2 separate regions of the Homo sapiens genome follow, and region 1 is linked to region 2. The links are contacts of gene promoters, found by promoter capture Hi-C in blood cells and fetal thymus (Javierre and others, 2016). All regions are on one chromosome and are shown on one strand. The core of a region is centred on a gene start or on the middle of the fragment in contact, and the rest is flanking DNA. Distances in the headings are between cores, read along the strand shown. Region 1 has its middle 50 kb from the start of PLCG2. Region 2 holds the start of ATMIN (ATM interactor).

The links. Contacts are between HindIII fragments. The CHiCAGO score rates a contact against its expected background, and 5 or more counts as called.
Region 1: a fragment that was not itself captured here is called in contact with the fragment with the promoter of ATMIN in region 2 in 2 of 17 cell types (fetal thymus and M2 macrophages); the score reaches 10.4 in fetal thymus.

The regions. Positions count from the first base shown.
Region 1 is chr16:81,726,887-81,732,689 of GRCh38, reverse strand. No RefSeq gene overlaps it. Among named protein-coding and RNA genes, the nearest start is that of PLCG2, 50 kb to the left of the region's middle. The HindIII fragment of the contact is 9,174 bases long and covers 1-5,803 here.
Region 2 is chr16:81,034,241-81,040,056 of GRCh38, reverse strand. ATMIN (ATM interactor) reads right to left here and starts at 4,215. Exons shown (of 4, transcript NM_015251.3): 1 at 3,851-4,215. The coding sequence starts at 4,186. CENPN-AS1 (CENPN antisense RNA 1) reads left to right here. Exons shown (of 4, transcript XR_007065134.1): 1 at 1-3,320; 2 at 5,131-5,302. RefSeq lists silencers at 3,546-3,895, 4,106-4,395. The HindIII fragment of the contact is 2,725 bases long and covers 2,965-5,689 here.

The sequences.
Region 1 (5,803 bases), core at 2,234-4,733, 690 kb before region 2:
AGGACAAGGGCAACCCCAGCAAAATGAGGCAGGTGCTCAGAAAAGGGAGGGGCTGAAGGAAACGTGAACTGAGTTTTGAGGCCAAAGTCTTAACTAGCTTAGACTGACTTTGTGCTACTAAAGGTATTTTAAGAAACTGGAAAAGCCCAGGCATGGCGGCTCACACCTGTAATCCCAGTGCTTTAAGAAGCCAAGGCAGGAGGATCACTGAAGGCCAGGAGTTTGAAACCAGCCTGGGCAACGTGGTGAGACCCCGTCTCTATAAAAAATTTAAAAATAGGCATGGTAGCACTGGCCTGTAGTCCCAGCTACTCAGGAGGCTGATGTGGGAGGATCACTTGAGCCCAGGAGGTGGAGGGTGCGGTGAGCTATGATGGTGCCAGTGCACCTCAGCCTGGGTGACAGAGTGAGACCCTGTCTCCAAAAACAAAAAATACATCTATTAAAAAAACAAACTGGAAAGATTTGACAGAGCAGTCCATAGCGCCAAGAAGAACACCATTTCACACATGTGCTCCAGGGAACACATGTGTGAACACATATGTGCTCAACAATAAATAAACCAGCGGCTTCCAAAATGTCCCTTGTAGGTCCTGGGGCCACAGGGAGGATTCCGTGACCTCATAAAGCATTCAGGACACTGCTTGGCACAAGGAGGGGCTCGGTCAATGTTCCTTAGTGAATAGGCATTGGAAACAGAACGGGGGGAGTGGAAGGAGGTCAGTAAGAGGCTTCTGGTTCCCTCTTCATGTGCTCCTGTGCAGGCCGGGTCTCACTAACGCAGGCTTCATCACAACGGCTTCGGCACTGACCGAGTAGTTCAGTGAAACATTAATAGCTGAGAGAGCCAGTGCCCTTCTACAAAGGCTGGAATGTCACAAAAGCCCACCAAGAGTTTTGCCTGGGCCTTTCCTGGGCCTTGAAGCATGACAGGATAACGAAGGAATTCTTAACAGGACCTGTTTAGGATTAAACAAGTTTTACTGGGGGTCTGAAATAACTCCCCAGGCCTCCACAGGCAAGTTTATTGGGGGTCTGAAGGAACTCCCCAAACCCCCATGATTTAGCAGGAGACAAGATAAGGGTAATCACCGCAGCACCTGGACCCATTTAGATTAAATAAATTTACTGAGGCTCCAGAGGAAGAGCTTCAGGACTCAGACCTTAGTTATAGAAGTTAATCACGGCTAGGCATGGTGGCTCAAGCCTGTAATCCCAGCACTTTGGGAGGCCCAGGTGGTTGGATCACAAGATCAGAAGGTCGAGACCAGCCTGACCAACATGGTGAAACCCTGTCTCTACTAAAAATAGAAAAATTAGCCTGGGCGGGGTGGTGCATGCCTGTAATCCCAGCTACTCAGGAGGCTGAGGCAGGAGAATTGCTTGAACACAGGAGGCACAGGTTGCAGTGAACTGCAGTGCACTGCACTCCAGCCTGGGTGACAGAGTGAAACTCCGTCTCCAAAAAAAAAAAAGAAAGAAAGAAAGAAGTTAATCACTTATGTCTTTAGATGAATACACACTCAGACGTAGACATATAGCTTAGAAGGTACATAATCTCTGGAAAACTTTGTAATTTTGAGTTGGTCTGGGGATAATTTCCAGGCCTTCTCCCTGCACCCGGTTACAGAAATCAACTCCTTCCTTTCCCCGTTCATCTGCATCTCGTTATTGGGCCGCGAGAATAAGCAGCCCCACCCTCAGTTTGGTCCGGAAACACTCCTGTTAAGGGGACGACGACAGGAGCATGCCAGAACACTCTTATGCCAAGACAACTTCCAGATTGGGGACTGAGTCCGCCCCTGAGAGGGCAGTCCCTGGACCCCAAGGTGGGGAAGCCTGGGCCCCCATCTCAGGGGGTTCCCCATCCGCTACCCCAGGAGCCAGCGCAAGGCCGAAGCCACGTCTGGGCGGCAAGGGTCGGGGCGGGCTGGGTGCAGCAGGGAGCCCCGCCCATTCTGGGCATCCTGCCTCTGGCAGGGTTGTGCTCTTAGGTGGAGCCACCGCCTGCAGGACCCAGGTCTGTGCCCTCTGCTTCCCTCAGCCTCACAGAGCCTCCCAGCCCGGGCTCCCGCAGCTGCAACGCTGGGCAGGGAAGCCGGGTCTCCATGACAACGTTGACGTCACCGGCCCGGGGCTGGGAATTGCCTCCCGCCCCCAGCAGCGGCCAGGCCCAGCCCCAGCCCGGATCTGCAGCAGCTGGGACCCCAGGAGCGTTGGCGCCTCCGACCCTGTCCTCTGACCTTCCCGTCCTGGCCACCAGGGGCAGACAGGCGTGAACGGGCCAGCCAGGCTCTCACCTGCCTGCCACCTTCCCGAGATCCCGCTTCTTCCCGCCCTTCCCTTTTGTCCTCAAATTGCTCTCAGCTGGTTGCAAGCTCAACAGACCTCGCTTCCTGTTTCATTAACTGGAAACCCCCTCCCGGGAGAATGTGCATTTTAATAGAATGTGGGGAGCGATGAGCTCGCTGCTCTCTCGATGGCTTCACCTCTGCCTCCCTTTACTCCACAATACAGAACAACTCCCAGGCCGGGCGCAGTGGCTCACGCCTGCAATCCCAGCACTTTGGGAGGCCAAGGCGGGCGCATCATCTATGGTCGGGAGTTCGAGACCAGCCTGACCAACAAGGTGAAACCCCCGTCTCTACTAAAAGTACAAAAATTAGCTGGGCATGGTGGCGCATGCCTGTAATCCCAGCTACACGGGAGGCTGAGGCAGAAGAATCACTAGAACCCGGGAGGCGGAGGTTGCGGTGAGCCGAGATCACGCCATTGCACTCCAGCTTGGGCAACAAGAGCAAAACTCCATCTCAAAAAAAAAAAAAAAAAAAAACAAAAAACCTCCCAGATTATCATATAGCCCCTCCCACATCCCGGGCGTCTACCCTGTAACAGCTTCCCACTGCCCTAGTGCTGAGACTTCAGAGGCCTCGGCTCTCTACAGCGGCCCAGACCCCCGTACCTCCTCCTGTTCCTCCTCCTCCTCCTCCCCACTTCCAGCATCTGTTCCGCCGACGAATTGCCAGGCTCTGCCTCGGGGCCTCCGCACATGCTCTTCCCTCTGCCTGCAAGGCAGTTTCCTCCTCCGCCTCCCCTCGGGCTGGAGACTCCAGCTGCTCTCCAGGCCTAGGCTCGCAGGTGAGCTCAGTGCTGCCCCCTCTTGAAGGCGCTCACAGCAGCCTGCACTTCCTTTCGGCCCTCCTTGCTGTCCCCAGGGTGAGGACAGTTAACAATAACGTGGTGTGTGTTTCCAAACAGCGACAAGAGACGTCTGAATGTTCTCACCACAAAGAAATGATCAAGGTTTGGGGTGATGGATTTGCTGGTTACCCTGATTTGATCATTACACAATGTATACATGTATGGAAACCATAAATATGTACCATTGCCAAGTATTGTGAACCCCAAAGTATCTGAGACAGGGCTCAATCAATTTAGAGAGTTTATTTTGCCAAGTTTAAGGACGTGCCGGTGACACAGCCTCAGGAGATCCTGAATGTGTCGAAGGAGGTCAAGGTACAGCTTGTTTTTATACATTTTAGGGAGGCGTAATACGTCAATATGTGTAAGACTGACATTGGTTCCATCTGGAAGCGTGGGACAACTCAAAGTGTGCAGGGCCTTCCAGGTTGTAGATGGATGTAAATTTTTCTGATTGCCAATTGGTTGAAAAGTTATTATCGGTAGTAAGAAATGTCTGAGTCGTGGCCGGGTGCCGTGGCTCACGCCTGTAATCTCAGCAGTTTGGGAGGCTGAGGTGAGTGGATCACTTGGGGTCAGGAGTTCGAGACCAGCCTGCACAACATGGTAAAACCCCATCTCTACTAAAAATACAAAAATTAGCCAGGTGTGGGGTCACATGCCTGTAACTGCAGCTACTTGGCAGGTTGAGGTGGGTTGAACCTGGGAGGTGGAGGTTACAGTAAGACAAGATCATGCCACTGCAGTCCAGCCTGGGCAACACAGTGAGACCCTGTGAAGAAAGAAAGAGAAAGAAAGGAAGGAAGGAAGGAAAGAAGGAAAGAGAGGGAGGGAAGAAAGGAAGGAAGGAAAGAAAGGAAGAAAAGAAGGAAGGAAGGGAAGGAAGGAAAGAAAGGCAGGGAGGAAGGAAGGAAGGAGAGAGAGAGGAAGGAAGGAAGGAAGGGAGGGAGGGAGGAGGGAGGAAGGGCATGCTGGCTCACGGAAAGGAAGGAAGGAAGAAAGAAAGAAAGACAGCCGGGCGTGGTGGCTCACGCTTGTAATCCCAGCACTTTGGGAGGCCGAGGCAGGCTGATCATGAGGTCAGGAGATCAAGACCATCTTGGCTAACACAGTGAAACCCCGTCTCTACTAAAAATACAAAAAAATTAGCCAGGCATGGTGGCAGGCACCTGTAGTCCCAGCTACTCGGCAGGCTGAGGCAGGAGAATGGCGTGAACCCAGGAGGCGGAGCTTGCAGTGAGCCGAGATGGCGCCACTGCACTCCAGCCTGGGCGACAGAGAGAGACTCTGTCTCAAAAAAAAAAAAAAAGGAAGGAAGGAGAAAGACAGAAAGACAGAAAGAAAGGGAGGGAGGGAGGGATGGAGGAAGGAAGGAAAGAAGGAAGGAAAGAAAGAAAGAAAGAAAGAAAGAAAAGAAAAGAAAAGAAAAGAAAAGAAAAGGTCTGAGTTGCCATATGGGTTGTAGAGACCAAGGTGTTATCATGCAGATGGTGCCTTCACGTAACAGGCTTCAGAGAGAATAGATTGTAAATGTTTCTTATCAGACTTAAGGTCTGTGTTAAAGCTGGAGGGTATAATAAGAAATGTCCAACCCCCTCTTCCATGACGGCCTGAACTAGATTTTCAGGTTCATTCTAGAATGTCCTTGGCCTAGAGGAGGGGTCCATTCAGAAGGTTGCAGGGCCTTACAATTTTATTTTTGGTTTACAGTGTCCATTAAAAACAAAATAGAATGCAAAACAAAAAGGAAAATGATTTGTATGATCATTTGTTTAGCAGCTGCCTCCATCCCCACACTGTATGTGGCCTGAGGGTGAGGATGGCATTAGTTCCATTCACTCCTGAGTCCCCAGTGTGCCCAACACACAGTAAGTGCTCAACACATATTTTTAGATGGCCTTATTGAGGTTTAATTGACACACCGTTCAATTCACCCTTAGAAAGTGTGCACTGCAATGGTATTTAGTGTATTCAGAACTGTGCAGACATCATCATGGTCGATTTTAGAACCTTTTCATTACCCAAAAATGATACCCTGTACCTGTGGGCAGTCACCCTCCTATCCCCCATCCCCCTCAGCCCTAAGCAAGCACTAACCTACTTTCTGTTTCTATAGACACTCTGGATGTTCGTATAAATGGAATCACACATTATGTGGACTTTTGTGACTGGCCTCTTCCACTTAGCACAACTTTTTAAAGGTTCTACTTGATACATTGTGCTCAGTGAATAAATGAATGGGTGACTGGATGAATGAAAGGCTGTGAGAAGCAAAGGCAGGGCCCTCTCCTGATGGGATGATGGGCAGTGGAAACGGGGGCTCTGGATGCACTTTGGGATCCACGTCTAATAAGGATGCAGCTCTGACTGAGTCTACAACTGCCTGCCCCAGGCACATCTCTGATGGTCTGCAGCCCAAGATCAAAATTCCAGTCTCGTTGCCCAACCCCTGAGTTTAGATGTAGGTCAGATGCCCGATCCACCGCCCCTCATTCCATGAGAAGAGCTGCTTTCTGTTCTTCACACTGGCATTTTTCATTCATTCATTCATTTATTCCACGGGTGCACGGTTATGATCTACAAGTCCTTTGTAAATGAATAT
Region 2 (5,816 bases), core at 2,966-5,465:
AAGACACAGTTGAAGAGTAGAGGGTGAAAAGAAACGATTGTAAGAACTGTAGCAAAAACTAGGAAAAACTGTCTGTCTAGCTACTCTAGCACCACCTGACTGCCTTCCGAGAAAGCATCCAAGAAGGAAACGGTTTGCTTTGTCATCTTATTCTAAATTTAAAATTAGAAATCTTTGTACAGTATAGTCTATAGAGTAACTTGGAACCTTTCCTTTCCTTAAAAAATTTCTGGCAAATCATTAAAAACAAACCTCTGGACTAAAAATAACACAAAATCCTCTAAGCCATGTTTTACAATATAAATGTTGCTTGATAAGAGGTTCTTTAAGTGCCTGCCTGTCCCCTCCACTGCTTTCACACACAAGGAACAAAAGAATCTCTAGGAATAAAAAAATGTACATTTACTTCTGCTCTTCCTGCCCCTGAATCCTCATGGCTTTCATTTCTCCATGAATCCCACCATACACAAGGCTGGGCTAGATTTCTGGATTTCCTTACAGGATATGGAATATGGCCATATACCTTAGGCACCCACATCAAACCAGAAGGCGGCACATACTCTACAGTTTGCAATCCAATTCCTCATTCTCACCCATCCTCGTTGCTCATCATTTATGTTAAGAAGGGAAGATTTGGTTGGGGGTGGGGTGTTTTGGGAAGAAAGATTAGAATAAAATAAGAACCAACAGCAACTAGTGGGGAGGGGAAGAAAATATAATCTAGAAAATATATAAACAATGAAAGAAATTATGCAAGCAGCTGTAACTAAGACCGAAAATTTCCACTGACTATAAGAAAACCTGCCAATAAGATACTCAGGGCAGAAAGTGGATGGAGTCTCTGGTCAACACAGCTCTTAAAACCTAAGATAGCTTCCCAGCCAGCCTTCCTCCCGGTTCCTTGTCCTTACCCCTACCTTCTTCCAGTACTTTGAAAACAGGTATCAACATTGATGTTTGAGGCCTGGCGCAGTGGCTCACTCTTGTAATCCCAGTACTTTGGGAGGCTGAAGCGGGCGGATCACTTGAGGTCAGGAGTTCAAGACCAGCCCGACCAACATGGCGAAACCCTGTTTCTACTAATAAAACAAAAATTAGTCGGGCGTGGTGGAGCATGCCTGTAGTCCCAACTACTCGGGAGGCTGAGGCAAGAGAACTGCTTGAACCCGAGAAGCGGAAGTTGCAGTGAGCCGAGATCATGCCACTGCACTCCAGTCTGGGCGACAGAGTGAGACTGTCTCAAACAAACAAACAAAAAGAACAATGTTTGAGGCAGGGCATGGTGGCAGGAGCCTATAGTCTCAGCTACTGGGGAGGCTAAAGCAGGAGGATCACTTGAGCTCAAGAGCCTGACAGCAACCTGGGTTAACAGAGCAAGACCCTGAAAAGCCTTCTATGTAGTAACCAGACAAGGTACAGATCTCCATACTGGGCACCATCATATAGATGGCTATTGCATCACACAGACAACCTTCATTAAAGGAAGACACCAAGACAGGAGCTGCTCAGGGGCCACTGGGCACTGCGGTTAGAAAGCCAGGACAAGACAGGAAAGTCAGTCTGCTTGTCAAGAAAAAAATGATGGATCTGGTGAGGTATAATTCCTGCTAAAAAAAAGTTTGCCCTGGCTGGGCACAGTGGCTCACACCTGTAATCCCAGCCCTTTAGGAGGCTGAGGCGGGTGGATCACTTGAGGTCAGGAGTTCGAGACCAGCCTGGCCAACATGGTGAAACCCCACCTCTACTAAAAATACAAAAATTAGCTGGGCGTGGTGGTATGCACCTGTAATCCCAGCTACTAGGGAGGCTGAGGCAGGAGACTCGCTTGAACCTGGGAGGCAGAGGTTGCAGTGATCCAAGATGGCGCCACTGCACTCCAGCCTGGGCGACAGAGTGAGACTCTGTCTCAAACAAAACAAAAAAAACCCAACATAATTAGAAACAAACCTACTGTATACTAACCAGTCCTGAAAGGCAAATGGTATCTTTATGTTCAACAGATGTTTACCAGGGTCTTTAAAGAGCTAGAGCTCCTAACAACAACTCCACAGAAAGGAACAACAGAAACTATTAAGAAATAGTTCATCCACCTAAGTTATGATTAAATAAAGGATTTAGGTCGGTCGCGGTGGCTCACACCTGGAATCCCAGCACTTTAAGAGGCTGAGGTGGGTGGATCACCTGAGGGTCAGGAGTTCGAGACCAAGCTGGCCATCATGGTGCAACCTGTCTTTACTAAAAATACAAAAAAAAATTAGCAGGGTGTGGTGGCAGGTGCCTGTAATCCCAGCTACTAGGGAGGCTGAGGCAGGAGAACTGCTTGAACCCCGGAGGCAGAGGTTACAGTGAGCTGAGATGGCGCCACTGCGCTCCAGCCTGGGTGATGGAGTGAGACTCTGTCTCAAAAACAAACAAAAAAACACAAAAACAATAGGGAAGAAAAGGATTTAGTTAAAATTTAGTATGAAAACAAAACAACAGGTTGAAAGCCATTCCCAGAGTTACACTTGAGTGCTGAAAGAAACCCAGAGCTTTTCAGTCCAACAATTCGGCCCCACCTGCACGGTCTTCCTCAGCATACCTCAGGTACATTTCCTGACTGGCTCCCTGATCTTCAATTGAGAACGTTGTTGCATCCCGGTTTAGATGGTGGTAAGAGCAGATCACTCTTCATTGGCGACACATCTGTCCTACTAGAGACTACAACCTCAGAGTTTTCTGCTGTGAAATTCTTATCAGAAGCCTGACTATGGGCAGACAGAACATGCAATATTCTGGGTACTCTAAATTTACTCCTGATCATCAAAAGCTACATATTCGCAGAACTGCTTTCAATGACTTGCGCTTTTGAATTATGTCACTGCTGGCCTAGAGTGGTGGAAGGAAACTTGCCATTGTAATGACTGAGAGATTGTGACTTAACAGGTCCGGGGTGGGGCTGGACATCTGGATTTTTAATAAGCTTGTCACAGATGTGTCCCAAGGTTGAAAATGACTGCCCTGTTTTGCATAACGTGGAGGGTTGTTGAGACTATTGTCATGGTGTATTTACTGTGTCCCCCTCTTAAAGAAGAGCCACAGGGGCAATTTCCCTTAGGTCTCAGTCCTGAGCTGATCTTACCAACACCGTGAAACTGACTGATGGTGTTTAGAGGCAAACCTACCGCTCCTTTAAAACATTTTTTTATTCATAATCGACACACAGTAATTATTCCTACTGATGGGGTGCGGTGTGCAGCATGGATGGACATATACATTGCATAGTGATCAAGTCAGAGTGTTTAACATGTCCTCGACCTCAAACGTATTGTCTCTTGGTGGTGAGAACATTTAAAACCCTCTCTTCTAGTTATTGTGGCACATACAGTCCACTGGGCAGGACCCAAGGGCGGCATTGTGGGTGTCGTGGCAAGCACAGGGCTTTAGAACCAGAGGCCCCGGTTTAAAGCCCCGCATCATCTAGGTTGCATAATCTGTTTCTCATTAATATAATGGAGACGATGCGTCCCTCGCCAAAACGCCGTTAAGAACTCACAGGCAAAAAAGTGTAAAAAGCCTGGGCCGGCGTCCGGCACGACACTCGGGGCCAGGGAGCCAGGGAACCAGGGAACTGGCGCGTACGGCGGACCCGGGGCTCCCAGCTCCTCCTCCCCCCCAGAGGCCGCACCTGCGGCGCCTGCCGCGAGGGTTCGAGAGCCGCCTCCGGCCGGGGAGGGCAGAGGCCGGTGGGGCAGCGGCAGCGGCAGCGCGCAGGGCGCTCGTCCCCCCGAGGCCGGCTTCGCGCGCCGGCGCCGGGCGCTTTGTTGGAGCCAGGCCCGGCCCCCCGGGCCGCCGGCCGCGTCGGGCTCACCTGCAGGCGGTGGCTCTTGACTAGGTGCATGTTGAGCGCGGGGCTGTTGGGCAGGATCTTGCCGCAGCCGCGCACGGTGCACAGGATGTTGGTCCGCACGGCCCGGGACAGCTCGCTCACCGACGGCTGGATCAGCTCCCCCGCCGGCGGCGCGGGGACAGCGGGCTGCTGCGTCGCCCCCGCGGGCCGCGGCCGGCTGCCCCTCAGTCGGGGTCCCGGGGGCACCCACGGGCCCGAGGCGGCGGCGGCGGCTCCTGTCGTGGCCGCCGGGACGGCCCGGGCACCCGCCGCCAGAGCCGCGGACCCCGCCGCCGCCGCCGCCTCCGAGGCCGCCATGGCTCCCGCACGGCCGCCCGGCCCAGTTCGTAGGCCCCGCCCCCGCCGCAGCCACTTCCGGCAGGGGGCGAGGCCGCCAGGCTTGTTAGCATCCGGCGGGCCCAGGCGGCCGCGGCGCCCCCTGCCGGCCGCGGAGGGCGCGCCTTGGAGGGAGAGGACTTTAGGTGACGCCGCCAGGAGGCGAAATTTCACCTGCCAGCAGGTAAAAGGTATTGCCCCGCCTCTCTAATCGATCCATTCTTCCTAGGAAAGTGACTTCAGGCAGTAGTCACATAAAAGAAAAAGCAATACGTTGAGCAATGCGTTTACTTCCCAAAGATTAGAAACAACCCAAATGTCTAGTGGCAGGTGAGGCAGAAGTACACTGATTTCCGCCGTTGTTTATTACCTAGGCCTTACTGGGTACCAGGTGGGTCTGGTGGATGCACTTTTCATGCTGTGTCTCATTTTGTCTTCAAAACGACTGTAGCGGGTATGTACTGTAACTTGCCCCACCTTGTGCAGAGAAGGACATTTAGGCTTATATAAATTAAGTAACTTGACCTAGACCACACTATACAAATGAAAAGATTGTTATTATTGATAGGATTAATCATTTTAAGAAGGCTGGATTTGCTTGCTTCTATTTTAGCTGCTGAAATTAGGATTACTGTTTGGGAGACACTGCAGTTCAGTATACGATTACAAAACTTAATACTTAGACTGGGTAGTTCATGTAAATGGACATAGGAGGCTGGGGTAGACAAAAGGGAGGGGTGAGGACTGCAGTGAAATTGGAAACACATCCTTTATTAAAAGGGGGCAGCTGCTACTCATCTTTGGTATGGCTAGAGTTTTATGTGAAAATTTCCACCTTTTACATACTAGCAGCTATATTCGTTTTCTCTTGCTATTAATAAATTACCACAAACTTACTGCCTTAACACAAATTTATTATCTTCCAGCTCTGGAGGTCAAAAGAAATGAGACTGCTGGGCTAAGATCAAGGTGTCAGCAGGGCTGTATTCCTTCCCAAGGCTCCAGGGGAGAATCTGTTCACTTGCCTTTCCCAGCTTCTAGAGGTTGCCTACATTCCTTGGCTTGCGGACCCTTCCTCCATCTCCAGAATCAGTAACGGTGAGTTGAGTCTTCGTCACATCACATCACTCTGATTTCTTCAGTAGTGATCCCTCTGATTCTTCTATTCTTGAGGCCCCCTGTGATGACATTGGGCCCATTCAAATCATCCAGGATAATTTCTCCAACTGCCAAGTCCCTTTGCCTTGCAAGATAACTGTGATAATGTGAAGTATATATTTGGTCTTTGTCCTGGCATGCAATTCCTAAAATCCTTGGAATCAGCAAATTGGTGTTTTTTTGTATGCTAATTAGTTGACTGATGACTCACAGTCCCTAGGTAGCTTTAGGATGGGACTGGTCACTGGAAAGACCAAGGTAGGATTAGAGGCTTGAGACTTTCAGCCCTCCCCCTCAACCTCTGGGGAGGAGACAGGGGCTGAAGCTTAAGCTGATCAATCATTCCTAGGTAATGAAGCCTCCATAAAATCCCAAAAGAAATGGGTTTGGAGAACTTCCAGATAGCTGAATGCATGGAGTTTCCTGGAGGGAGGCGCACTCAAAGAGGGCATGC